Linked DNA regions of Homo sapiens: regions 1 and 2 are each linked to region 3. Evidence: promoter capture Hi-C in 16 types of primary human blood cells and fetal thymus (Javierre and others, 2016). All regions are on one chromosome and are shown on one strand. The core of a region is centred on a gene start or on the middle of the fragment in contact, and the rest is flanking DNA. Distances in the headings are between cores, read along the strand shown. Region 1 overlaps DHX36 (DEAH-box helicase 36). Region 2 overlaps DHX36 (DEAH-box helicase 36). Region 3 holds the start of CCNL1 (cyclin L1).

The links. The method cuts DNA at HindIII sites, captures the fragments that hold promoters and counts their contacts. A CHiCAGO score of 5 or more calls a contact.
Region 1: a fragment that was not itself captured here is called in contact with the fragment with the promoter of CCNL1 in region 3 in 2 of 17 cell types (non-activated CD4 T cells and total B cells); the score reaches 6.1 in non-activated CD4 T cells.
Region 2: a contact is called between a fragment that was not itself captured here and the fragment with the promoter of CCNL1 in region 3, in 1 of 17 cell types (total B cells). The highest score is 5.3, in total B cells.

What each region holds. Positions count from the first base shown.
Region 1 is chr3:154,294,590-154,299,071 of GRCh38, reverse strand. It overlaps DHX36 (DEAH-box helicase 36), which reads left to right. Exons shown (of 25, transcript NM_020865.3): 13 at 3,733-3,788. Among named protein-coding and RNA genes, the nearest start is that of DHX36, 28 kb to the left of the region's middle. The HindIII fragment of the contact is 1,727 bases long and covers 2,112-3,838 here.
Region 2 is chr3:154,311,284-154,315,762 of GRCh38, reverse strand. DHX36 (DEAH-box helicase 36) reads left to right here. Exons shown (of 25, transcript NM_020865.3): 3 at 483-717; 4 at 4,089-4,127. Among named protein-coding and RNA genes, the nearest start is that of DHX36, 11 kb to the left of the region's middle. The HindIII fragment of the contact is 777 bases long and covers 1,053-1,829 here.
Region 3 is chr3:157,157,035-157,161,662 of GRCh38, reverse strand. It overlaps CCNL1 (cyclin L1), which reads left to right and starts at 1,516. Exons shown (of 11, transcript NM_020307.4): 1 at 1,516-1,871; 2 at 2,184-2,258; 3 at 2,688-2,797. The coding sequence starts at 1,569. RefSeq lists enhancers at 655-714, 735-784, 872-1,601, 2,235-2,304 and a silencer at 1,885-2,094. The HindIII fragment of the contact is 11,903 bases long and covers 1-4,628 here.

The sequences.
Region 1 (4,482 bases), core at 1,726-4,225, 2.9 Mb after region 3:
TCGAACTCCAGACCTGAAGTGATCCTCCCATCTCAGCTTTCCAAAGTGCTGGGATTACAGGCTTGAGCCACCACGTGTGGCCTCTGAATATAATTTCTAACCCTACTCTGTTGAAGTGCTTTTGACAAAATTAATTATTTATTTATTAATTTATTTTTGAAACAGCATCTCACTCTCTTGCCCAGGCTGGAGTGCAGTGGTGCGATCTCGGCTCACTGCAACCTCTACCTTCCAGGTTCATGAGATTCTCCTGCCCTGCCTCCTGAGTAGCTGGGACTGCAGGCACCTGCCACCACGCCCGCCTAATTTTTTGTATTTTTAGTAGAGACAGGGTTTTACTGTGTAAGCCAGGATGGTCTTGATCTCCTGACCTTGTGATCTGCCTGCCTCGGCCTCCCAAGTGCTGGGATTACAGGCATGAGCCACCACGCCCAGCCAGACAAAATTTATAGGCACTAGAAAATATTTTGATCTAATTGTATTGACTAAAATAATAAATGTATATATTTATTATTTGTTAAATCCTGTTATGCTCTGAAAGCATTCTCTGTAATTAAAATTATTTACTATCTAGCTTGCAAAGTATTTTGATCTAATTGACTTCTCTATAAAGAAATACTGCTTTCTGTTTTCTTTTTGTGTGATAACTTTATAGAAAAATTTGTCATGATTAGACAGCTGAATTTTTCAAACAACTAGAATTTTTTTATTGGCTAAATCTAACTCTGGCCTTTCCTTCCCCCATTATTATAAACATTATTGTATAGTGTACTTATAATTTTAAAAAATGTGTGTGCATATATTTACCAATGAAGATAAGATATATACCAAAATATAACGTTATCATTTAGTGTATGTGATGGAGAGTGGGAAAAGGGTATATTATAGATTATTATAATTGACTTCGTTAACTTTCTAGTTTGAATTAATTATTCTCAAGGAAAGAGTTGCTAATGTATACACTTCCACTACCAGCTCAATTCCTTTTAAAGGAAATCTTTCCAGAACTTGAGTGTTTTTTCTCAAATTATGTTGAAAAAAATTTAGCCTTGATAATCAGTTGTATAGTTAACCACTATCATGGGGAGAAAATTGGCCTAACTCTGTGCTGAGAAATTGAGTTTTGAAACTCAGTTTATTAAATGCTTATCAATTTCTTGTTTTTTTCTTTTCATAAGAGTATAGATTTTGTTCTCATTAACTCTCTTAGTTGTATGGTGTCAACAATATAAATTTTTTTTCCCAATTATATAGTCTTCAACAGAATTGTTTTTACTTTTATTATCCCTGGCTAACTTTTAAACTTTTTATAATGAAACATTTTAAATATACAAAAAAACTAGAGACTTTTTTTTTTTTTTTGAGGTGGAGTCTCGCTCTGTTTCCCAGGCTGGAGTGCAGTGGCACGATCTCAGCTCACTGCAACCTCCGCCTCCCAGGTTCAAGCAGTTCCCTGCCTCAGCCTCCCGAGTAGCTGGGATTATAGGCACCCATCACCACACCTGGGTAATTTTTGTATTTTTAGTAGAGACAGGGTTTCACCATCTTAGCCAGGTTGGTCTTGAACTCCTGACCTTGTAATCCACCTGCCTTGGCCTCTCAAAGTGCTGGGATTGCGGGCGTGAGCCACTGCACCCAGCCAAAACTAGAGAATCTTAATGAATCCACGACTTCAGTGCCAACAATTATTTTTTCAGTCCTAGTTTTTTCTTAAAGTCAATTGCAGCTGTCACATTTCATTTCTAAATGTATAAGCAAGAATCTCTAAAGGCAATTTTCTATATAACCATCATGTCTTTATCATACCTAATCCTTAATACCATCTGATAATCCAGTCTGTAATCAGATTTTCCCATTTTTCTGAAAAGTGTCTTTCACAACTAGCCTGTTCAAACTATAGAAAGTGTCAACATCTTTTGATCTAGCTCTAGAACATTGCTCCCCTCCACTCCCTGCTTTTCCTCATGGTAATGTAAAGTCATGGAAAAGACCAGGCCATTTGTTCTCTAATAAGTCCAACTTTCTGAATTTGTGTGACTCTTTATGCTATCATTTCATTTGATTCTCTCTTACCTTTATTTCCTGTAACTCGAAAGTTATATCTGAAAGCTTGATTCAATTCAAGTATTTTTGGCTTGAATATTATAGTTGTAATATTTCATACTGTCACAGAGACAAGTAATTCAGAGGATTCTTTTTTAGCAACATCAGTTGCTTGGCAGCTGTTCACTACTTTTTATTTTTAAGATTCGTAAAATCTCTTCACAGTCAGAGTCCATGGGGATCATCATATCCTTTAGATAACAACAGTTCTTTTCTGGGGAAGTATAGCTGACTTGAATCATTTGGGCATTTAAGTCAGATTGTATTTTTGTAAGCATAGTTAAATGTGAAATTAACTCTTGCTTTCTTGATACTCTCCCTTTCACCCATCACTGTATTACACCAGACTTTCTGTGTTGGCTAATAATTGTGAATGGGCTTGAGCTATTTCATTTGGAAACTTAAAAAGTAGGAATTTCTTATATTTTTAACAAAATATGTGTAAAATGTGGGTCACTTTTGGAATGTATTATTATTATTATTATTATTATTTTTGAGACGGAGTCTCGCTCTGTCACCTAGGCTGGAGTGCAGTGGCGCGATCTCGGCTCACTGCAAGCTCCGCCTCCCAGGTTCACGCCATTCTCCTGCCTCAGCCTCCCAGGTAGCTGGGACTACAGGCGCCCGCCAACACGCCCAGCTAAGTTTTTGTATTTTTAGTATAGACGGGGTTTCACCGTGTTAGCCAGGATGGTCTTGATCTCCTGACCTCGTGATCCGCCCGCCTCGGCCTCCCAAAGTGCTGGGATTACAGGCATGAGCCACCGCGCCTGGCCTGGAATGTATTATTTTTAACAAGGACTATTTCATTATTTTCTAACTAGGACATGGGTATTTAATAAGTAATTTGCTCTAAAAATTTAGATATTATCGGTTTGATTAAAATAGTGAGGATTGCCAGGTGCAGGGCTCATGCCTGTAATCTGTAATCCCAGTACTTCGGAAGGCTGAGGTGGGTGGATTGCTTGAGCTTGGGAGTTCAAGACCAGCCTGGGCAACATGGCAAATCCCCATCTCTACAAAAAATACAAAAATTAGCCAAACATGGTTGTGCATGCCTGTGGTCTCAGCTACTCGGGAGGCTGAGGTGGGAGGATCACTTGAGCCCAGGGGGCAGAGGTTGCAGTGAGCAGAGATCACACCACAGCAACGGGCAACAGAATGAGACCCTGACTGAACAACAAAAAAATAGGATCACCCAAAGTGTACAAACGTATTCATGTTAAACAGAATTGTTGCCTATTCATTCAGTTTTTATTGGTGTAATTTGAAAAGATTACTCCCAACTTTTGAGCATTCTTTAAGAATTTGGGGAAAATACTTATCAATATGAAATAAACTAACAGAACAAAATGTTAGCTTGAACTTGGAGCGCTCAGAAAACAAGACTATAAAGAAATTAAGTTGGTCTGTTTGTATGTAGAAATAAAAATAAAGAATTTTTGGTTCACTTAAACACATGGGCAGTTTGTCAACTCAGATGGTTTAGCTGTTTTCATTAAATAATGTTCAATGTCTTATCAAAAAAAGAATTGAGTGGTTCAGCTTCTGAATTCATTGTCTCATATGTGTTTGATGGAGCTTTTCTGCAACTCTTTATCTTAAAATTTAATTCTCTTTAATTTTCAGATAAATTTTTAATTATACCTTTACATTCACTGATGCCTACAGTTAACCAGACACAGGTATGTTAAATGGATACATTTGTTAAATGTATTTCAAACTGAGGCAAGCTTTAAGGACTGCTTGTTACGTGTTTTCCTTTATTTTTTTTAAGGAGTATTTTCAAATAGTAATTCATGTAAAAAAATACTTCTTTGAGAACCTTTGCAAATGAGTCTTCAGGGGATGATTGCTCAAAAACTTGAATATCAGCGGATAACCCACAAATCAGATTAGTTTTGTCTACATTAGGAAAAAGTTTAAAGAATTGGTTTCACCAGTAACTTCGTTGAGTTTCCTGAGTAAGAGAAAAAGGTCTGTGAGTACTACTAAAAGTAACCAAACCTAGAAATTAATGATCTGTGACATACTACAGTTTGATGATGATTTGAGATTTAATTTCACAAAGCTAGTATATTCACAGGTATAAAATTTCTGTTTTAATAATGTATTATGAATGTTTGGCTCCATCAGATACAGGCGCTTTCCTAATTAGAGTGAACACTACATTCTCAGAGGCAGGATAATGTTATGATCTACAGTATTTGCAGGCTCTTGCAAAATGAAATTGATTAGAAAACCTGCTCCTCCCCCCATTTCTAGTTTATCCTTTTCTCTTTTTATAAGAAAATATCAAGATACTTTTCTTTGAGACCCTTTTAATATTTTTGTTGCTGGTACCTTAGTCATGAATTAGATACAGAGTACATACCTGAG
Region 2 (4,479 bases), core at 192-2,691, 2.8 Mb after region 3:
TTCTGTCTGGGAGATCTGCAAGAAGTGAAATTGCTACCGTTTTAGAAAGATTACAAGAACTGTATCATTTAGAGGAAAAATTAGTACAAGTATTTCAAAGACTGTGTATTGTAGCATCCTATTTGTAGCTCAGAAAGGGTGGCAAGAAAAAAAGATGTTGTGACATAAAACAAGTTCGAGAAATCCAGAAAAAGAGAAACACTGTAAGTAACCGCAGTGAAGGAATGACTATTCTGTGGATTTTTATTTTTAACTATCACAAGGAATAACTTAATCTGGCAATATCTATTTAAAGGGAAGAAAAATTTGAATTTATTATAAGAATCTAAGTATATTTTCATAATTACTGTACTAAGAGAAAAGAAAAGCTTTGGATTTGGATGACTTTGAAATATTTCAACAGCGTATTGTTTTGTTTTGTTTTGTTCCAGTGTTTGAGTGGCTCATCTGACCTTTCTTCCTTTCTTATTTTGTCAAAACAGATACGGTACTGAAGTTTCTACTAAGAACACACCATGCTCAGAGAACAAACTTGACATCCAGGAAAAGAAGTTGATAAATCAAGAAAAAAAAATGTTTAGAATCAGGAACAGATCATATATTGACCGAGATTCTGAGTATCTCTTGCAAGAAAATGAACCAGATGGAACTTTAGACCAAAAATTATTGGAAGATTTACAAAAGAAAAAAAATGACCTTCGGTATATTGAAATGCAGGTAGTAGAAAGATGTCAAAAAATATTTTGTCATTTTTTTCTTACACTTTATAAAAATGTATGTATGGTTAGAGGTAGCTGCATGGCATAGATCAGTGAGATCCTCAACAAGACATCCCTGTGGGAATTAATTTCTTTTCGAATGGTAGAGAAAAGCAGTGGGAATGGAAGTTACACATAACCTACAGTATCCTATCTCATCCACAGAAGCTTATGTGGTGAGAAGAAATGTTTGAGAAATGCTAGTGCCAATGAAAAAAAAACTTACTCTTCAGCTTTTCTAGGCCAGTTTAGTGAGGTGCCATGTGCAGTAAAGGCAGTTAAAATTGTAAAGCTTGTTCCAGATTACTTAATACATCTTCTTTTTATAGATGATAAAATTAAATATTTCAAAAATTATGTGATGTGCTTTGTTCACTAACATTTTAAATACAGGACTATCACAACACCTGAGATCTCCTGAATTCTGATATTTTCTTTCTATGCTAGGCAAGATATTTTAAGGTCCCTTTCAGTTAAAACATAAAATTGTGTGATTTGTGGGTGTTCTAGAGATGTAATAAAGTGGTCTCATGTATGTATGTATATGTTTAAGAGAAATTACTGAGGAAACTCTGAGGGCCATATCTTTAATATGTAAATACATACTGCTGTCTTTGATAAAGGAAGGATATAGCACCTCCTATAGGAAAGAAAGGATCCCTTGGCTCACTGATGAAAGCTGAATTTCCTTAATAGGAAAGAAAGGATCCATTGACTGTTACTGATGACAGTTGGATTTCCGTATTAGAATAGATAAGCTGAGGTTGTCCAGGGCCAAATTGTGTAGCTCTTTGATGCCTGTTGGGTAAAAATGTGATTTGAAAATGGAGGAAATTTCAGGATGAATTAATTGAGAATCTTCTGGTTGAGAAGAGCTGCTTTAACAGCCTTAACAGGAGGAATTAGTGTCTTTCTCTTTGCTGTATATGATGGACAGAACTCATATACTAAAGATGGGTGATTGATCTAGTTCAGAGAAAGAAAAATGTGTAAAACATTTAAAAAGTTGGTGGTCTTCCTATTTCCCATATGTTGTCATAAATGCTTCATGTGTACTATATTATTTAAGCTTCTCAACAACCTTGAATAAGAGACTACATGTCTGTTGTAGATGAGGAAAAAGATTTAAGTGACCTACCTGAGGTTGCATAGCTCATAACAGAATCAGATCTAAAATTCAGCTGTGTTTAACAACTCAGCTTTTTAATCATTTTTAGCATGTGCAATATTTTTTCTTTATGTTCTTTAATAAACATTAATTTTCTACTTACTGGATGCCAGTTACTGTGCTATATATGTGTGCGTGTATGTATATATATATATTTAAGACAGGGTCTCACTCTGTCACCCAGGCTAGAGTACAGTGGTGCCATCATGGCTCACTGCAGCCTCGACCTCCTGGGCTCAAGTGATCCTTCCACCTTAGCCTCCTGAGTAGCTGGCACTACAGGCATGTGCCAGTACGCCTGGTTAATTTTTGTATTTTTTGTAGAGACAGGGTTTTGCTTTGTTGCCCAGGCTGGTCTTGAACTCCTGGGCTCAAGCAATCCTCCTACCTCCACCTCCCCAAATTCTGTAATTATGGGAGTGAGCCACACCAGCCAGTTATGCTTATTACTGTTTTTGAAGAGTAATAAGATATTTCCTGTCCTCAGAGAGCTTATAGTTGAATTATCTCACATCTTCGTTATGGTCAAAAGTTAACAAAGTAGAAACTTTGGCTGCCTTGGGAAAGAATATTGGACTATACCTCTCTTTCCAGTGGCATTTACATGTATAAAGCAAATACGATTAATGCCAGTTTGAAATGCAGTGGGATAGCTTGTGTATAATTATGTGTTAAGATGGTAACATTTGACTACCTGGGGTGTTAATACTTATGTCATTAAAAATAGTTTTTAGATAATTTAAAAATTATTACAAGATAAGTAAGTTATTACAAGGTAAGATAAGTGTGGTAGCTTTTGTTATTTTAAATGACTAGAATTCATTTCAGTCTTCACATTGACTGTTATTTTTATGGTATTGGTAAGAATTACCTGACCATAACAAACATGGCAATAATATAATACTAGATTACCAAAGACAGTTCTTTATTTATTTTATATATATATATATATATATATATATATATATATATATATATATATATTTTAATTATTTCCTTTTTTTTTTTTGAGATGGAGTCTTGCTCTGTCACCCAGGCTGGAGTGCCGTGGCACGATCTCGGCTCACCACAACCTCCACCAATTCTCCTGCCTTAACCTCCCAAGTAGCTGGGACTACAGGCGTGTGCCACTATGCCCAGCTAACTTTTTGTATTTTTAGTAGAGACGGGATTTCACCTTGCTGGCCAGGCTGGTCTCAAACTCCTGACCTCATGATCTGCCTGCCTCGGCTTCCCAAAGTGCTGGGATTACAGGCGTGAGCCACCATACCCAGCCGATTTTTTCCATCTTAATAAAGGGTGTTTATTAAAGCTGACTTTATTTTTATGCCACTGAAGTTTTTTTTTTACATTATATGTACCTAGTTGAATGTAAACTACAGGACTGCTTCTTAAATGTTTTTATGTAATACGGGTATAGAGTTCCATAAAAGTTTTCAGAATTAGGAAGAAATTGTCACATAAATATAGGAAAAATAGTCATTCCTTTTGTAGTATTCTAATTGTAATTTAACACATTTGAAATTCATTGAGTAGCTTATATGTTTCAGAAACTGGTATTTGCTTTTTATATAAAGGTTTTTCATTTAGATCTTGTGGCAACCGTATGAGATAAAATCTTTGAGGCATTCATACTTTAAGTTTGACTTAACTGAGATCACAGCTCTAAAATGGCAGTACCAGATTTTCTGACTGCAGATATTACTTGTTTTAAGTTTTCTCTTACACTCAAAGGCAAGTATATCCTGAAATTTTTGATTCTGCTCCAGTACTTAATGTATTAGTAAATAGTGCACTGTTGGGTGGGAAAAACATAATATAGAAATCAAATCTAAGATGAATATATAAAACATATTGAAAAATAGTGAAAGTAATTTAGCAATTATTAGAATACTGTTAGAGGACAGATCCGATTTCATTTTACTGCCACTGACTTAAAGCATTGTCTCTATTTTGCTGGATGTAATGGAGTTCTGGTTTTGAATGTTTCAGACATAAAAGGAATTGGTAAATTATTCTTTATAATGTTTTTACACAAGCCATGAGATAATAAAAATACTTTCGGATTCTAGCCAATTTACCCTGTGATGTATCCTAAATACCATGATTATAATTTGATTACATATCTTCTGTGAAAATTTAAAACTTTTTTTAAATTTCAGCATTTCAGAGAAAAGCTGCCTTCGTATGGAATGCAAAAGGTAAAGTGCTTTTTTCCACTATTTAATTTGATTTGCAAATTAAATACACAATTTTTTTTAAAGCTCTATATCAAGAAAAAATGTAAATTAATGAACTTTCTTTTACAGGATAGTATTGGAAGTTAATTTTATTCTTTTGAATTAAGGACAAAAAGAAAAAAAAGGTTCATAAACAATTTTCCTCATGTTTGCTCCTGTTTTTGTCCATAATTGAAATCTTTGAAATTTAAAAAGTAAAATTTCCTCCTATAAGTTAGTTTGGATAAATACCTTGCAGTTAAGTCAAGACCAAATACTTCAGTTAAAAATAATATACAAATTATTGTATTAATTAAAATCAATGTACAAAAAA
Region 3 (4,628 bases), core at 267-2,766:
GGCTGCAGTGAGCCGAGATCGCGCCACTGCACTTCAGCTTGGGCGACAGAGTGAGACTCTATCTAAAAAAAAAGAAAAAAAAAATCAACTGATAACAGGCGATTAACAGGAGAAAAGGGATACATAACACCGGGGTAAAAGCAGGAGGATGATTACCCAGTAGCTTAATGGAGTACAGAAGATTTTATATCTTTTTTTCATAGGGGAAAGGGTAGATGAGAAATGTAGACATTTATTTTGAGGAGCAGCAAATGATTATTAGGAACAATGAATGGACAGAAATTAGTAAATAATTTTCTTTTGAGTAATCTTGTGAAAAAGTCCCTCCAGGAATGGCTGCATTTCTGAGTCTTTTTGAAATAGGATACGAGATTTCAGCGAGGGGAGGAATGCGATTGATTCTTCTACAAAGAGGCTTCTCTAGTCAGGAAAGGAAATTTCAGAGAGTACCTCCCTGCACTTGGGAAAAGTGGGAGCAACAAGTCAAGGTTGGGGGACCTGCATTATGAGGCAGCTTCTAAAGCCTCTGTCTTTGGGGTATCGCTTTCTGAGCGTCAAGAGTAAAACGTGATGCATTCCTTTCCTTCCAACCTAGATTCTAGTAGTTTAGATCAGTATCATTGTTTTTACTTCAAGGTTCAGGAAACGCTGGAAATTGCTAGCTAATATCACAGGAAAAAAAACAAAAAACACGAGGTTGACCTCACCCTACCCGCGGTAGGTAACCATGTATGAATAGAGACTCCCAGGCATAATCAAATTACCTCTGTCAAGTCCTCGCCCTAAGACTATTTTTGGAAACTAGGGATTTTCCAGATTACTGAAAGCCGTGGCGGTGTCAAAGGCCGGGCAGGAGTTTCGCAAGCGGAGCTATGAAAGCAGCCACTCTCGCGGTCATTCCTATGCCTCCGCCCTACTTCCCCATACTGGCAAAAACACGCTCCCCGGGGAGCTTTCATTTGGGAACCGATAGGGTCCACAGCCCTGTGTTCTTCAAATACTGTAAAGCAGCCCTCTCCAGATTCCTTGAGGGTCACTTTATATTACACATTCGTCCACACAGGACAACAAAGTCACCACTTCCACCCGCCAAAGCGCGCTCAGGTCGGCCGCCACTTCCCTTGGTACACGCGGAACGCAAGCCGCGCCGAGGCTAAAGGAAGAGGCCGGAATGCAGGGCGAAGGGGCGCAGAGATGCTAGCCAATGCTGCCACCTCTATTTTGGGTATAAGGGATCTTGTAAAGCTCCGTTATTCGTGTGGCTATCACAAACAAGGTGGTTTCGACCGGCCTTGGCTAGAGAAGGCCTCCTCAGCCTCTGAGGATCCCAAGGTCTGTCGCAGCACCCAACACTCCCCTCGCAGGCCCAGATGCCGAGGGCGGAGGCGCGGCCTGGAGGGACTAGTTGGCGCGCGGCTGCCCGGCGTGGTGACGTCAGGGCGGAAGCGCACGCGGCGTGAAGCGGCCCAGAACCCGGCGGTCACGGGAATATCCGTCGCGCCGAGAACGCTGGTTAGTCTTGTTTCGGGTTCCGGCTGCGTTGGGCTTGCGTGCGGCTCGCTAAGACTATGGCGTCCGGGCCTCATTCGACAGCTACTGCTGCCGCAGCCGCCTCATCGGCCGCCCCAAGCGCGGGCGGCTCCAGCTCCGGGACGACGACCACGACGACGACCACGACGGGAGGGATCCTGATCGGCGATCGCCTGTACTCGGAAGTTTCACTTACCATCGACCACTCTCTGATTCCGGAGGAGAGGCTCTCGCCCACCCCATCCATGCAGGATGGGCTCGACCTGCCCAGTGAGACGGACTTACGCATCCTGGGCTGCGAGCTCATCCAGGCCGCCGGCATTCTCCTCCGGCTGCCGCAGGTCAGTGCTCCGGCCCCGGGCCGGCCGGGCGCTCCTCTCCTCTCCTCCGTCCCCTACGCCGCATCTCAGTATCACCGTGCCCCGGGAGGGTGGGGACGGTTCCTTCAGGCTTTCCCGTTCGGGGCCCAGCCGCGGCCGGGGCGTGCCGGGGCGGGGGGCTGCGGAGGCGGAGGGAGGACTTGGCAGCGGGCTGTTCGCAGCGGCGGCGGCGGCGGGAGGGGAAAGGGAAGCGATCGGCGGCACAAAATGGCGGCGGCGCCTGGAGCGGGCCCGCCTGACCCCTGCGCTTCCGTTCTCCTCTCTTGTCTGCAGGTGGCGATGGCAACGGGGCAGGTGTTGTTTCATCGTTTTTTCTACTCCAAATCTTTCGTCAAACACAGTTTCGAGGTAAGCACAGCGGAGGCGGGTAAAAGGGATTTCTTCATCCGGAAATGGGCAGAGTAGGGGTAGTGTCAGCAGCCAGCTTTTCCAGAAAGGGAGTGGTTTAGTTTAGGCCTTTGTACCTACTTCTCACTCGCCAGGAAGTGGAAACCTTTAGAATGTGGTTCAAAATCGATCACGAGCCTAAGTGCCCTCTTAACGAAAAGTACAGTTTTCAACCAAATGCAGAACTCCTGTAAGATTGAGTTTGACTCTGGAACCAAAATTAAGATGAGTTAAACAACAAAAAGTATAGTACTAGCATAGCTGGTAGACTTACGGCATAGAGATGTCTTCTCTAATTTTACTAAAGGTTGTCCCAATTGTGTTCTAAATTTTATTCTTCAAAGTGAGTTTAATCTAACAATGGCTTTTGTGGCTCATGGGTTCTTTCAGATTGTTGCTATGGCTTGTATTAATCTTGCATCAAAAATCGAAGAAGCACCTAGAAGAATAAGAGATGTGATTAATGTATTCCACCACCTCCGCCAGTTAAGAGGAAAAAGGTAAGATTGGCATTATTGAACATAGTATCTCTTGCTACTGCTGTACCGTGCACCAGTCATCAAATCAAAACATCTTTCCTTTCAAGTGAATACGGATGCAAAAGAAAACGGACTTTAATTTAGGTGTTAAAGTTCATATAGGAACACTGATACTTAAAATAATTTGAAAAAAGAAACATAATTAACCGGTTATCTAAAGTTTGTAGAGGCAGTTGCATTTATGGACAATCCTAACAGTGCTGTGAAGCCAGGCCTGTGGCTTAAGATTAAACAAGAAAGGGAGTACATTTGGCTCAAGTGTGAGTGTATTCTGTAAGTTATTTTTCCTCTCCCCTCTCTGGAAGACTGAAGGCTGGAAGTTTAAACACTGTAGTTTAAGTTAATATTGTGGCAAAGTTCTGTGTAGATTATGTTTTTCTACTCGAAGTCCCAGTTAATTCTTTATCAATTGAGGTTGGCTTTTGTTAGAGTACTTCTCAACATTGAACTACGATAAATCGAATAATACCGGATCTGAAAGGACTGCAGGATGATAAAGTTTGAAGTTTGAAGTCAAAGGGATTAAACAGGTATTTTGTTTTGGTTAGATACAGTCTCAGTGAGTGGGTTAGAAAATTAACAAGTAAGATTGATTGGGTTGCATTTAGATAGGGCCATTTATTTGATGTTGTAAGAAAATACAGAGACTGAAATAGTATCTCCTAGGTGTTGTGGTAACATAATTTTATGTGGACCTATGTGTTCCTGTGAGGCAGTACCAAAAAGTTTGTTGCAGGACTTCCTGCATCTACAGGTGACTTCCAGTACATGCTGCAGAATGATATATTTGGTGTAGAATAGTTTTTGCATTCACTCTTTAAGGAATTGTAGTGATGTTAGACAAATTGTACTGAGTTTGAAAGGAAGTTATTAAAAGGATTATAAGTTGTTCTGGGGGTTGGGTATGTTGGTTAGTGCTGTTAGTATTCTATATGAGTAGTCCTTATTGGCTGAATCTGTAAGTTGGCAGTAATGGAACTATTCAGACAAGCAAATATTAAAGCAACTTTAAGATGACTAGTCTATTCTGTGAGTCTACAGACAGTTCTTTTTTAAAAAAAGAGTATCCTAGTCAAAAAGTCTGCAACAGTTTTCCTACATACTTTTTCTCCCCCATCTTTTCTCATTCACCTTAACTGTGTCCAGGGATAGAGTACTTTTTAAATTCTAAAATATCTTTTAGTTTGTTGATGAGTCCCTGGGAATTGGGAAGATTTCAAATTGGTCTTTGGTATGGTCTGAGGTTAAATCTGTATTTAGATACCTGGCTGATTCTTCAGGATGTTTAAAGTAATGACACTAATACAAGGCTCTATCTTTAGTCAAAGGTTTCTCTTTGCTTAAAGGAAATGGTTTTCTAGTATTCTTTGAACCATTGAGCCAACTATTATGTAATCACATGATTATCTTCTGTGGAATTTTCCTGTGAGACTAGTTTACTTCGTTGATGTTAGAATAGGTCTTAACTGTAAAAACCATGGAATTTAAAATAATATAATCTCACCTGATTGTTGTGTCTGATGTAACTTTGTTTTTTGGGTCATTATTACAGAGAAACTGATTTTGTTTCAATCTTAGAAGTCTGATTATAGCAAAATTTAAAAGGAGTTGTTAATTGCATGGAAGCCTTTTTTTAAAGCAGGATGTAAAAGTGTTTCTATGCATATTACAAGTTTACTCAAGCACGTAACTTGTATATGTTATTAACTTCAACTCTTTTTTCCCTTGCAACCGACTATACAGCGACCAGCTACATTTACCAAAGCCTGGGTGATGTGGAGTGGTACATAGA